5 separate regions of the Homo sapiens genome follow, and all the other regions are linked to region 3. The links are contacts of gene promoters, found by promoter capture Hi-C in human tissues and cell types (Jung and others, 2019). All regions are on one chromosome and are shown on one strand. Each heading gives the region's core, a stretch centred on a gene start or on the middle of the fragment in contact. The rest is flanking DNA. Distances are from core to core; before and after follow the strand shown. Region 1 overlaps RPS6KA5 (ribosomal protein S6 kinase A5). Region 2 overlaps FBLN5 (fibulin 5). Region 3 holds the start of CCDC88C (coiled-coil domain containing 88C). Region 4 overlaps RPS6KA5 (ribosomal protein S6 kinase A5). Region 5 overlaps RPS6KA5 (ribosomal protein S6 kinase A5).

What was found. The method cuts DNA at HindIII sites, captures the fragments that hold promoters and counts their contacts. A contact is called where the count stands out against the background at its distance.
Region 1: a fragment that was not itself captured here is called in contact with the fragment with the promoter of CCDC88C in region 3 in 1 of the 25 tissues and cell types used here (lymphoblastoid cells).
Region 2: a contact is called between a fragment that was not itself captured here and the fragment with the promoter of CCDC88C in region 3, in 1 of the 25 tissues and cell types used here (hippocampus).
Region 4: a contact is called between a fragment that was not itself captured here and the fragment with the promoter of CCDC88C in region 3, in 1 of the 25 tissues and cell types used here (bladder).
Region 5: a contact is called between a fragment that was not itself captured here and the fragment with the promoter of CCDC88C in region 3, in 1 of the 25 tissues and cell types used here (lymphoblastoid cells).

Annotation. Positions count from the first base shown.
Region 1 is chr14:90,931,027-90,933,726 of GRCh38, reverse strand. The region is part of intron 5 of RPS6KA5 (ribosomal protein S6 kinase A5); the gene reads left to right. Among named protein-coding and RNA genes, the nearest start is that of LINC02321, 100 kb to the right of the region's middle. The HindIII fragment of the contact is 5,911 bases long and covers 1-2,700 here.
Region 2 is chr14:91,913,597-91,916,296 of GRCh38, reverse strand. All of the region lies in intron 4 of FBLN5 (fibulin 5), which reads left to right. Among named protein-coding and RNA genes, the nearest start is that of FBLN5, 33 kb to the left of the region's middle. The HindIII fragment of the contact is 4,313 bases long and covers 1-2,700 here.
Region 3 is chr14:91,416,549-91,419,248 of GRCh38, reverse strand. CCDC88C (coiled-coil domain containing 88C) reads left to right here and starts at 1,429. Exons shown (of 30, transcript NM_001080414.4): 1 at 1,429-1,618; 2 at 2,411-2,511. The coding sequence starts at 1,559. It overlaps CCDC88C-DT (CCDC88C divergent transcript), which reads right to left and starts at 1,003. Exons shown (of 3, transcript NR_184261.1): 1 at 909-1,003. It also overlaps the pseudogene LOC112268126. RefSeq lists enhancers at 14-63, 304-948, 2,554-2,700 and a silencer at 1,014-1,933. The HindIII fragment of the contact is 13,115 bases long and covers 1-2,700 here.
Region 4 is chr14:91,030,021-91,032,720 of GRCh38, reverse strand. The region is part of intron 1 of RPS6KA5 (ribosomal protein S6 kinase A5); the gene reads left to right. Among named protein-coding and RNA genes, the nearest start is that of RPS6KA5, 29 kb to the left of the region's middle. The HindIII fragment of the contact is 5,621 bases long and covers 1-2,700 here.
Region 5 is chr14:90,990,770-90,993,469 of GRCh38, reverse strand. The region is part of intron 2 of RPS6KA5 (ribosomal protein S6 kinase A5); the gene reads left to right. Among named protein-coding and RNA genes, the nearest start is that of RPS6KA5, 69 kb to the left of the region's middle. The HindIII fragment of the contact is 3,689 bases long and covers 1-2,700 here.

The DNA.
Region 1 (2,700 bases), core at 102-2,601, 490 kb after region 3:
GACTATGGCTTCTTCCCTGCACAAAATGGGGAGCCACTGGGGAGTTTTGAGTAGAAGAGTAGTGATCTCCTATTTTGGAAGAATAATTCTGGTTGATAACTGTGATAATCCTGTAGTGGGACAAGTGTGGAAACATGAGGTCCAGATAGAAAACTGTTGAAGTAATCCCAGCAAGAGATGGAACTGGCCTAGACTATGGAGTAGCAGATTTTAGGACTATTTTGACATTAGATCTAATGGAATTTTTTGATGAGTTAGATGTGGGGTATGAGAATTCAGAAGAAATCTAGTGTGGCCCCAAGGTTTTTGGCCAGAACAGCTGGAAGGATGAAATTTCCATCAACTAATATGGGGTAGGCTGCTGATGGGGAGCTATCTGGGGTTACAAGAGGAGAAGTTCAGCTGGACAGGTTAAGTTTGAGACATTTATTAGACACACAGCAGAGATGTTAAGCAGTGAGCTATATGAGTCTGGAATTTGGGAGAGAAGTCTGGTCTGGATCTATGAATTTGGAATTTGGAAAACAAGGTGGATTGTCTCAGAAGACAAGTGAAAAAATGTTTCAAGGTTGAAAATGATTAACTGTGTCAAATGCTATTGTTAGGTTAAATAAGATGGGGACTGAAGATTGAGCATTGATTGGCTCAGTTTTAACCTTAGGAAAGAGAATAGCAGTAGCCTTATTGTCTTCCACATATGTAGACAACTTGGGGTTTTCTGTTAAAAGGAATAGTGAAATTCTGTGAAGAGCATAGCAGAGGATGAAGTGAGGATGAAAAGAGGGTTTTTTCCCCTAAGATGGGAGAAATTACAGATGTCATACACTAGTTAGAATAGTCCTCAAAAGGAAGTGGGGTAGATACACTGATATCTACCACCCAAACCCAGATATCTATCTCCTATAATAATACAGCAGGTAAAGTGGGAAATTGCTGGAACACTGTCCTTGAGAAGGATAATGTCAAACGCACAAGTGAGTTTGTGCGTGATCATGCTACTAGTGCTTAACGAGTAGCATGGTCAGTTCATGCTTAGAAACTGAAGAAAGTTGAGTTACTAGGCACACATGTGGGTGGAGGTTAAGTGGTGTGTACTGGCAGCTTATAGAAGGTCTTCTGTTTTCTCACTGAGTATGAGGAAGGGAGTGGACACATCGAGGTTTTAGGAGAAAGGAGATGATATAAAATAACCAACTAACAATGTGGGAGAGTGAACGGATTAGGGAAATGAATGTGTTTGCTGGGTACTATTAAGACCCATGTGAGATTCCTGATCATGAATTTAAAGTGAAATTGCCTGGGCTGATGCCTGTAATCCCAGCACTTTGGGAGGCCGAGGTAGGAGGATCACTTGAGCCCAGGAGTTTGAGACTCAACAGCCTGGGGAACAGTGTTGGGCAACAGTGAGACCTCATTCCTATAAAAAAATAAAAAAATTAGCCGAGCATGGTGGCACGTGCCTGTATTCCTAGCTACTTGGGAGGCTGAGCTGGGAGGATTGCTTGAATCCGGGAGGCAGAGGATGCAGTGAGCCAAGATCATGCCACTGCACTCCAGCCTGGGTGACAGAATGAGACCCTGTCTCAAATGAATGAATGAATGAATGAATGATTGAATGATTGAATAAAATCGGCCAACCTGATTATATGGTTTTCTCCAACAATGTGTAGCTGCACTGGTGCAGGTAAAGAGTATGTGGTGGATTAATTTTAATTGTGTTTTAGTACCCTTACTTCATGTGTGTATATCCGTAAACAATATATACTATTACCATGTTTTTTAAATGTACATACATGACATATTCTATTGCAAATTGTTTTTTATTTGACCTATTCTTGAAATTTATCCAAGCTGATAAATGGGATGTTTCATTTATTTTAACTGTTGTGTAATAATCCTTTATATTAGTTATCCAGTCTATCTTTTCTCCTACTGAGGTACATTTAGGTTGTTTCTATGTTTTCTCTATCACAGTGTTGCATTTTTTCCCCTGATGTTATTGATTTGTTGGAGTTCGTTAAGTATTATAGATACCAACCCTTTATAACTATATGTTTTGTAAATTTCTTTTCTAAAATTTTAACTTGTTTTTAATTTTGTTTAATGATCTTTTTTGCCATTTAACATTTTAATATCCAATGTACTAAATCTTTTCTTTTACGGCTTATTTTTTTAATTTTAAAAAAATTTTAATTGTGGTTAAAAAAACACAAAACAAAAATTGCCATCTTAACTGTTTGTGAATATATGGTTCAGCAGCTTTAATAATACTCATTTTGTTATGTAACAGATCTCTAGCACTTTTTCATCTTGCAAAATTAAAACTCTATACCTTTTCCCCCGTCCCCTAACCCCCAGCAGCCACCATTCTACTTTCTATTTCTGTGAGTTTGACTACTTATGATATCCCATGTCAGTGGAGTTGTACAGTATTTATTTTATTTTTGTGACTATTTCACTTAGCATAGTTCTCAAGGTTCATGCATGCTGTAGCATGTGACAAGATTTCCTTCTTTATTAAGGCTGAATAATATTCCATGGTATTTATATGCCACATTTTGTTTATTCGTTTATCTGTTGATGGACATTTGGATTGCTCTCACCTCTTGGCTATTGTGAATAATACAGTGAACGTGGTTGTGCAAATATTTCTTCAAGAGGCCTGCCTTCAATTCTTTTGGATATATACCCACAAGGGGG
Region 2 (2,700 bases), core at 136-2,635, 500 kb before region 3:
TTTGTATTCTTTTTGTAGAGATGGGGTTTCACCATGTTGGCCAGGCTGGTCTCAAACTCCTGGCCTCAAGTGATCCACCTACCTCGGCCTCCCAAAGTGCTGTGATTACAGGCGTGAGCCACCGTGCCTGGCCACCTGAATTCTTTTGAGCTGTTCTTTGTTATCCTGCCCTTAGGAACAACAAAAAATAAAAGGCAAAGAATGGTAGATTTTTACCATATGTAACCATCATTATCTTTGGTCATGTTATAGTATGATTTGTTTACAATATACTGCTGGATTTGTTTGGCTAACATTTTATTTAGGATTTTTGTCATTAATGTCTATAAAGTAGAATGACCTGCCACATTTCTTTTTTAATATTACTCTTACTAGTTTTGGTGTCCACATATAAGCTTGATAGAGTGAGATATTGTTCCTTTTCTATTCTCTGGAAAGTTAGAATGGTCTAACCTTAGGTCATTCATGGAAATTTTATTCAAATTCAATTCATGGAAAGTTTATTTGAATTTGCCTATAAGATCATTGAGATTTGGTATTTTTGGGTGTGTGAGTGGGAAGATTTTTAGCTACTGATATGATTTCTTTTTTTTTTTTTTTTTTTTTTTTTGAGATGGAGTCTTGCTCTGTCGCCCAGGCTGGAGTGCAGTGGCGTGATATCGGCTCACTGCAACCTCCGCCTCCCGGGTTCATGCCATTCTCCTGCCTCAGCCTCCTGAGTAGCTGGGACTACAGGTGCCCACCACCACGCCTGGGCTAATTTTTTTGTATTTTTAATAGAGACGGGGTTTCACCATATTAGCCAGGATAGTCTCGATCTCCTGACCTCGTGATCCACCCGCCTTGGCCTCCCAAAGTGCTGGGATTACAGGCGTGAGCCACCGTGCTTGGCCGCTACGATATAATTTCTTAAAGTTAGGGGACTGTTTGCACTTTCTGTTTCTTCTTAAGTCAGTTTTACATAGTTACCTTTTTCTAAGAACTTGTCTACTTAATAAGTTTTTAGCTTCATTTGCATAAGCTTTTTCTTACCATTCTTTGTGTTATCTATTTGATCTTTGCTGACTTTGTAGTTCTGTTGTATTTTCATTCCCAATATTGTGCTAACTCTTTTTTTTTTATTATTTTTTATTTTTTTAGACAGAAACTTGCTCTGTTGCCCAGGCTGGAGTGCAGTGGTGCGATCTTGGCTCACTGCAACCTCCACTCCCTGGGTTCAAGTGATTCTCCTGCCTCAGCCTCCTAAGTAGCTGGGATTACAGGTGCTCGCCACCACACCCAGCTAATTTTTGAATTTTTAGTAGAGATGGGGTTTCACCATGTTGGTCAGGCTGGTCTTAAACTCCTGACCTCAGATGATCTGCCTGCCTCAGCCTCCCAAAGTGCTGGGATTACAGGTGTGAGTCACTGCACCCAGCCTTGTGTTAATTCTTTAATTAAAAAACAAAAAACAAAACAAAACAAAACAAAACAAAAAAAAAAACCACACAGATATTGCCAGAGTCATATCAGTTTGCTGTTTTCAAAAAGAAATATTTTGCTTTGTTGCTCTCCCCGATCTCTTTCTTTTCCTTTTGCTTTTATTTCATCAATTCCTGTTTTTTATTCTTTTCTTTCTATGTTTTGGATTTGTTTCTGTTTAAATTTTTTTCTTTTTTTATTTTTTCGAGAGTCTCATTCTGTTGCCTAGGCTGTATGCAGTGGCATGATCATGGTTCACTGCAGCTTTGATCTCCTGGGCCTCAAGTATCTGGGACCACAGGTATGTACTATACTGCCCAGCTAATATTTGTTGTTTTTTTTTTTTTTTTTTTTTTTTGAGACAGAGTCTCACTCTGTCGCCCAGGCTGGAGTGCAGTGGCATGATCTCGGCTCACTGCAAGCTCCGCCTCCTGGGTTCATGCCATTCTCCTGCCTCAGCCTCCTGAGTAGCTGGGACTACAGGCGCCTGCCACCACGCTCGGCTAAATTTTTTTGTATTTTTGTAGAGACAGGGTTTCACTGTGTTAGCCAGGATGGTCTCGATCTCCTGACCTCGTGATCTGCCTGCCTCGGCCTCCCAAAGTGCTGGGATTACAGGCATGAGCTACTGCGCCCAGCTAATATTTGTATTTTATGTAGAGGCAGGGCCTCGCCATGTTTCTCAGGCTGGTCTCGAACTCTTGAGCTCAAGTGATCTGCCTGCCTTGGCCTCCCAAAGTGCTAGGATTACAGATATGAGCAACTGTGCATGGCCCCTTTTCTAATTTCTTAAGCTGGTTGCTTAGCTCATTAACTGTAAGCCTTTCTTCTTTCATTAAGTCAGCACTTAAGACTACATATTTTTTGGTGTGACCTATAAGTTTGGATGTATGGTATTTATTGCTATTAAGTTGTAAGAATTTTTAATTTTCCCTGTAATCACTTCTTGTTATCCATGATTTATTTAGTGGTGAGTTTCTGAATGTTACACATTTATGGGGATTTAAATTATCTTTTTGTTATTGATTTATAACTTAATTGCGTTGTCATCAGGACATAGGGTCTTCATGATTTATTCACTTTGGTATCCACAATGCCTAGCACAATGCCAAGAATGTAGATGTCATTTAGTAAGTATTTGCTGATATAATTGAATGATAGTTGAGTGAACATCTATTGACCAGGCGTTAGAAGAATTATCTCTGCTCAAATTGTCCAATCCTTCCAGCTACTTGATAT
Region 3 (2,700 bases), core at 180-2,679:
TAAATTAATCCGCGGGGTCGAGTGCCATCGCGGCGGGCGGAGAAGCAATTAAGGAACTTCTCTAATGAACTTCTGGTGCACAACAAAACCATGTAGTCTCGAAATTTTAGTTCCTCCGCAGTCCCCCATTGTGTTTTATGCTACCCCGCCTTCCACAGTCTCTAGGGACCCCTAACCGACCCCCTTGGCTCTCAGGCCATAATCTCACAACCCTCCCCAGCCCAACGGGGTCCGCCAGCGCTGGGCTGTAATACCACTCGCCACCAGCAGATGCCGCAGCCCCAACGCTGCACAGAGCCAACTTTCAAAATTACCACCGAGCCTGTCGGCAGCCATTTAGTGCCTGCTGTATACTTGCCAAGCGCCACGCAGGGCCCTTCGGGTCAACCCTGTACCAGTTGGCCCAGCTGCGAAATGCGGCGATCGTTAGGGTTAAATTAGTAAAATGGTCTACAGTGCTTTGAACAATGACCGGCTGGTGGTGTGAAATTATTACCAGGCCGAGACCAGCCTGGAGCCGGCTCCTGCCTCGTGCCGTCCCGCAAGGAGGTCCTGCCCCCGGGCTTGCCTTCCAGCCAGTTGGGGCCTTTGCCCTTTTTCCTGTCGCCTGCCACTAAGCTGCTGCTAGGAACCCCGGCTGGAATTTAGCTCGCCTCCGGCAAAGTGGTGGGGGCGGGCCCGGGTCGGGGAGGCCACATCACCTGCTTCCTGCAGGAACTTTTAGAAGGCAGGCAGCCCGGAACATGGCACGGTGGGGCACGGTAGGGCGCGAGGGGCCGCGCCCCTAAGGCCTAAACTCAACATAAAGTTTCTTCTTTGCCCTCCAGCCCAGCCCCAGGGTCGGGGCGCGTTTATCGCGCCGCGCACAAGCGTGAGGAGCGGGGGTTTGCGGGGCCTCTTGACTGTACCTGGGGCTGCACCTGCCAGGAGTGCGGAAAGGCGCAGGGCCGAGGTCCCCAAGCCCAGAGCGGGCGGCAGCTGCGGGCGACCTCGGAGGGCAGAGCAACCTCGGAGGGCAGGGCGTCCCCGCTCCCGGCACGCACCAGTGCCCGCGCACCCCAGCTCGCACGTGGCGCTCGGGCCCCGGCTGCACGCGCACGCGCGCAGGGATGCGCCACGTGCTGGGGCCCCACACGCGGGGAGGCTGCGCTCGGCGAGGGCGCGCGGTCCCACGGGCGGGGAGCCGGGCCCCGCGACCCACCCGCCTCGGGCCACCAGTCCCCTCCCAGCGCCCCGCGTAGCCTGGTCCCGCGCCCGGGCTCCCGGGCTCCCGGGCTGGCACCGCGAGGCGGCGCGCCGGTCGCCCAGGGCCGCCGAGGGGCGGGGCCGCCCGTATTGTTCCTCCCCGAGCGGCTGGCCCTCCCCTTCCCCCAGACCCGGGCGGGGCGCGGGGCCGCCGAAGCCGCGGAACGTGGGCTCGCGCGCCCCGCCTTTGTCTCCCGGGCGCGAGCCGCCGCAGCCCCGCGCCCGCTGCTCGCTGCGGAGCCGTTTTGTGCCGCGGCGCGGGGGAACGGGGACGCGGGGCGGGGGGCGCGGAGCCGGCGGGCGCAGCCTCAGCATGGACGTGACAGTCTCGGAGCTCCTGGAGCTCTTCCTGCAGAGCCCGCTGGTGACCTGGGTGAGTGCGCCTGGCTCCCCGCCCCTTTGTTGGTGCACCGGCTTCTCTCTAGCCCGGCGACGGGACGCCGCAGACCCGACACGGCCGGGGCCCCGGGTGGCTCCGGGGCGCGAGGGACGCAGCAAGTGGCTCCCGGCCGGGGTTGGGGCCGCGTCCTGGAGTCCGGAGCTTTGTAACTCTGGAGCCGGCGCCCCCGTTGTGCGTCCGGCGCGGGACCCCGCCGCGCTTTCGGCCGGGCCAGGAGCCGGGCGGGTACACCTGTTCCCGCTGGGGCTCTAGGCTGGCTGCCTCGGGGCGGACCGGGTCCCAGTGGTCACTCCTGTCCCTGGGGTTTAGCCACTCCCGAAAAGGACCCCATTCTTCCCAACCAAATATCTCATGTAGTTTTTCTGAATCCCTGAGACCAGCCGGTGGATGGCGGTGACGGGTGGGGAATGGGGGGCGCCGAATGGGAAAGCGAACAGACTGGGGTGGGCGCACTGATTTACAATGGATTTGAGACGTGAGACATTTATTGAAAAGTCCTTTTTATTTTTATTTCTTCCGCTCTGGAACGCGGGAGAAAAGTGGCGAGGAAGTTTTTCCTCCTGTCTCGTGTCTGTTGCCCCGCGCGGGGAGGGGAGACAGGCCCTAGGAGAAGGCCGGGCTTGGTGCCTGCTGAAGGGTGGTGTGGGCGTGGGTGACCCCCTTCTGCTCACACTGACCCGTCCAGTCTCTGCCTGGGAGAGCTTTGGACCGTTTGTGCGCACGGGGTGACTTCCTGTCTTTCTCTCCTCGTCCCCCTCCCCGCAGGTGAAAACTTTTGGCCCGTTTGGAAGCGGCAGCCAGGACAACCTGACTATGTACATGGATTTAGTGGACGGCATCTTTTTGAACCAAATTATGCTGCAAATGTAAGTTACCTTCTTCTCGGAGGAAGGAAAGAATGGTGCGTTAGAAAGTTTGAGAGTAGAAATGGAGTGGAAGGTTGCATGGCGGGGTGTGTGTGGGGTGGGGGGTAGTTCTCTGAAGGTGGAGACGCTGGTATCTCAGTATTAACGTGCCTGTTGGACATTCGTAGGTGTTTGAAGAACTCCAGGACA
Region 4 (2,700 bases), core at 121-2,620, 390 kb after region 3:
TTCCCGTGCATGTTTGCTTATGTTGTTTCTTTGATGTGGACTATATATTCCTGTTAAAACTCACTCAGTTCTTCAGGACCCATAGCCGTCAAGCATGAAGCTATCTCTGATGTTCCAACTAGATGTGTTGCCCCTGCCTCTTTGGAATTCATGCAGCACCACATTTTGGCTGTAGTGCATAGTTAGGTATTATAGTTTTTTTTTAATTGATTCCGTTCACTCTAGCAGATAGTGTGCTTTGTGGGGAGGAACTGTTTCATCATCTTTGTTTCCCAGTGTCTGTCATAGTAACTGTGCGTGTTTAGCTGCAAGTAAGAAAACTCAACTACAGTGGCTTAACTAAAAAGGATTTTTAAAATCCTTGCATAACAGGGAGTCTGGAGCCAGGAAGCCCAAGCCCCTAAGAATCTAGACTCTTTCTGCTCTGGCAGGCTTAAATGTGTTTTAGCTTTTGCCCTCATTGATTATTCACATTCACAAAAGAATATGGGAGAAGAGGAAAACAGTTTCTAATGTAGGTTTTGAAATCCTCTTTACTAGACTTTTCTGTATGTTGAATTTTTGGTCACATGGTATCACATGGTCATCATTCTGCAAGGGAGGCTATGAAATCAGATATTGAGCTTCCCAAGGGGAGAAGGTAGTTGAGAATGGTGAGAACGGTGTTTAAGTGGACCTGCCTATAATGTCGCCCGCAAAGAGTACTCAATAAATATTCTTTGTTTAATTTTAAAATTTTTATTAAAACGATCCATATAAATACTTAGTCAAATAGTACAAGAGGGATTTTATTCCCAGTTTCTACTCTTTTCTAATATTTTCTACCAATTTCAAGTGGCATTTTAAAACTCTTGAGTCATCAATTTTAGACCTGTTTTATTTCCCTGCCTGTCTACTTAATGAAGTTATATTATAATTTTGGTTGAATCCACATTCAGTTTTTAATGGCTATATAAATATTCATTGTGGGGCCAAGTGTTTTATGTTTTTTTTCCTTCCTTAAATAAGTTTTTTTTGGTTGTTTTTCCTGGAGTTAAATTACCCCAGTCTTTTCATTCACTTAGCTTTCTTTGAGTCTCTAAGTGTTTCTACATGTTTTAACAGCTTTATAAAATACTTTTCATTATGATTTTCTATAGGTTAGATAACCCATGAGTTCTTTTTTTCTTAAAGACAGTCCTTTGTGGAACTCTGTTCCGTCTCTTCCATTCTGGATTGGTTTCTTTCTCAACTTTGTGTAACTGTCATAATGGGATTTTCCTTCACTATCATCCTGGGAATTATGTGCTTAATCCTGTTTCCTGGATCCAATGGCTGTCCTCTTTTTTAGTATTATATCTGTGGCGCATCCTCCAGTAGATTGCTGAGAAAGCTTGCATAGGAGATTTTTTTTTGGAAAAGCTTTTTCAGATATTAAAATGTCTTCATTATGTTCTCATATTTGTGACAGGTTTGCTTGGTTTAAAGTTGTAGATTGAATTGTTACTTGGGATTTTGAAGGCATTATCCCATTGTCTTCTAGCTTCTAATGATGCTGATGAGAAGTTTGATACCATTCTTATTTCCAGTGGTTTGTATGTGACCTATTTTTTAAAATCTCTGGAAGGTTTTAGGATCCTCTCTTTATCCCTGGTTTGGAATTTTGGAATTTTACATTTATATTTTAAAATTTATTTGCTAAGCACTGAGTATGCCCATTAAAACTCCTTTAGTTCTGGGGATATTTTTTGAATTAGTCCTCCTCTGGGTTCTTCTGTTCACTTTTTCTAAAATTCTCTTAGATACTGGATTTCCAAGATTATTCTGTGTTTTTAAATTTTTTTAATCTCCTGTTGTTTATCTCCTTGCATCTTTACTTTACATTTGGTCTCTTTCTTTAACTTTATTATCTAGACCTTTAATAGGCTCCCCCTATACAGATTTAAAAGTTTTCTAAGAGCTTGATTTTTTGTTTTATTTCTTCTTAATTGCTCTCTTTTTCTATTTTATGGTTGAACTATATACCTCCTTAAGGATAATTATACTTTTTATGAAGTTATTTTCCTAGTACCCTGGGTTGCCTCTCTTTCTTCTGAACTTCCTTTTTTTTTTTTTTTTTTTTTTTTTTTTCTGTTTATTTTGGTGTCTTGCATGTTAGGGATTTCTCTCAATTGTCTGGTGATCCTTGACTGTTAATGTGAATAAGACACCAAAATGCTGGTTAGAAACTCTGTCTTGCTGGCTGGAGGCTTACATGGTATAGTTTTTCACCGGGAGCTCCATATGTCAATATCAACAACTTTTACCCAAGTTTGTTCATTTTTCCATAAAAGGATCCTCTGGACTTCTTGGGGAACATTAGCCTGGCTCTCTGCTTTCTGAAACCAACAGCGCGTGTGTAGACTTATATATTATTCTGCATTTTCCGTTCTTACCTCATCCTTGCTTCTCTCTATACCCAGTGACCCCAAATCTGGTTCTTCTCCCAGGAAATTATTAATCCTAAGTGTTACGAGTGTGAGGACTTGGGGAATAAAACTCCTTAAATCCGTTTCAGACATTTCCCCTGTTTGCATTCTTTATCTTGCCCTCCCCAGTCCTCTGCCTTTGGTGATTACAGGTGCTTCTATAATTTGGAGCCTTTTGGGGTTCTCTGGGGGTGATTTAGCTTGCTCACATGAACAGTTTCCTCTGCAGGCATTTTAACTTGACCTTTTCCCA
Region 5 (2,700 bases), core at 138-2,637, 430 kb after region 3:
GGAGTCTTGCTCTGTCTTGTTGTTTTTTTTGAGACGGAGTCTTGCTCTGTCACCCAGGCTGGAGTGCAGTGGCACGATCTTAGCTCACTGTAACCTCCGCCTCCTGGGTTCAAGTGATTCTCCTGCCTCAGCCCCCTGAGTAGCTGGGACTACAGGCTCATGCCACCATGGCTGGCTAATTTTTGTATTTTTAGTAGAGATGGGGTTTCACCATATTAGCCAGGCCGATCTCGAACTCCTGACCTCATGATCTGCCCACCTCGGCCTCCCAAAGTGTTGGGATTACAGGTGTGAGCCACCACGCCCAGCCAACATTTTCAAACATACAAAAGCTGAGTGAGTTTTCTACCAATAGGTCCCCTATGAGAATTTTAAAAGAAGTAGTTTTAGGAAGAAGGAAAATAATCCCTGGAGAATTTTCCGAGATGCAAAAAGAATTACTGAACAAACAGTCTAAAGCATACTGACTGTGTAAAGCTCTCGTCACGATGTCTCATTTGTGGAGTTGAAAAAAGAAAACTGAAAAATTGGACAAAATAGCATTTAATTTGGGAGGTGACAGGAGTTAGTTTCCTGAAGTAATGTTCCTCAAAGTTTAACATGCACAGTAATCTTGAAATGTGTAAATTACCAAACTGATTGAAAAAAGGTGTGAGAAACCTACATAGTCCTATAACTGTTAAAGAGATTGGTCAGTAAGCAAAAATCCTCTTGCTGGGAAGACACTCAGTACAGTTTTAAGAATGAGTTCTGCCACACATTCAAGGCATAGATAATTCTGATCTTCCACAAACTCTTTCAGAAAACAGGAAAAGGGGGATTATTTCCTCCAACTCATTGTATGAGTCCAGTGTAACCTTGATTCCAAAAAACACACTAGGACAGTATAAAGAAGGCAGATTATCAGCCCATTTTATATATGTGAAATTTTTAATATCAAATTTATATAGTCAAACCTTGTGTGTATTTTCTTTCAACACATTGAATACTTTGACTCATTATCTATTATACATCTGCACTGAGTAGTTTGGTTACAGGCCTTGAAGACAATTCTGTAAAGGTAAGGAAACAGTTTACCTGTAATGTTTTACCTTTGTATTTCCATTTTGTGTGTGTGCACTGTTTTATAATGGATCAGTTGTCAGCCATGGAGACTGCTTTTCCTTTTTGCCAGCTGACAGTGTAGTCTCTTATGAGAAGATGGGATAACTAAGAAATGTCATTGTAAGTATATCTGCCTTTAAAAAATCACAGTTTTGATGACTAAATGGAGTAGGTGGAAGCTTTTATAATGAATATAATAAAATCTCAATTTTTATTCAAAAATTTTACCACTAATCTTTCAGTTTCATTACCTTTTTAAGATAAATTTTTTTCAGCACTACTTAGAATAATAGGAAAGACTCATCAGATGTCTTCATGTGTCATGTAAGGTTTTCTTTGGAAATGAAACTGAAAACTCTTCTGATGAATTAATTTCTATATATTTAAACTAGAAAAAAATGCTATTCATCAAATATCTTGAAGACTGTGGAATATTTGAATATCAAAGATTTACTTTTTGACACTTAAATACATCTAATATGCATAAAACTCTTTTTTACTCAGATTGACTTGCTTCTCTTGAACTATCTGGTTTCCTTTGGCCTATCACTAACCTTGATCAGTTTTCTGAGCTAGAAACTTTTAAATAATTTTGGATTCTTTTTGGATTCTTCTCTATCTATTTTGACCTCTTTATCTCTCTTCTTTTTTTTTTTTTTTTTTTGAGATGGAGTCTCACTCTGTCACCCAGGCTGAAGTTCAGTGGTGTGATCTCAGCTCACTGCAACCTCTGCCTCCCAAGTTCAAGCTATTTTCCTGCCTCAGCCTCCCGAGTAACTGGGATTACAAATGTGCACCACCATGCCCGGATAATTTTTGTATTTTTAGTAGAGACAGGGTTTCACCATGTTAGCCAGGCTGGTCTCAAACTCCTGACCTCAAGTGACCCACCTGCCTCGGCCTTCCAAAGTGTTGGGATTACAGGTATCAGCTGCTGCGCCCAGCCCAGCCTCTTTACTTCTATTTTCTCACAAAGTCCTATAATTTTCCCCTTAAAGTGATCCTTGGATTTACCTTTTCTGGGCCTAAGAACGGAAAGTGCCATCACTCATTTTACCTTATGCATGGATTCTTTCAAGGGGTGTCTTAACCTGTCTGCCTTTCTGTAGGCTCTCTTCCATTTGTGCATTTTAATATCATATGCTGTTATACGTAATATACAGTCTTGCTAAAATACAACATTTTCGTGCAGTTTTTCTATTTAAGAACATATACTGCATTTTTTCCCATTTAACTATTCAAGCCCAAATTCTTGCCTTGCTTTCAGTTTCCCCTGTCTTTTTTCGCCCAGCTTACCCTGATATTCTGCCTACTTTCTATTTTTTTCCCCAACTTTTATTTTAGGTTTGGGGGTACATGTTCAGGTTTGTTACCTGAATAAATTGCCTGTCGCTGGTGTTTGGTGTAAAAATGATTTTGTCACCTAGGTAGTGAGCATAGTACCCTATATGTAGTTTTTCAACCATCACCCTTCTCCTACCCTCTCCCCTCAAGTAGGCCCTAGTATCTATTCTTTCCATTTTTATTTCCATGTGTACTCAATATTTAGCTCCCACTTATAAGTGAGATCATTTTCTTTTCCTACATCAGTTTGCT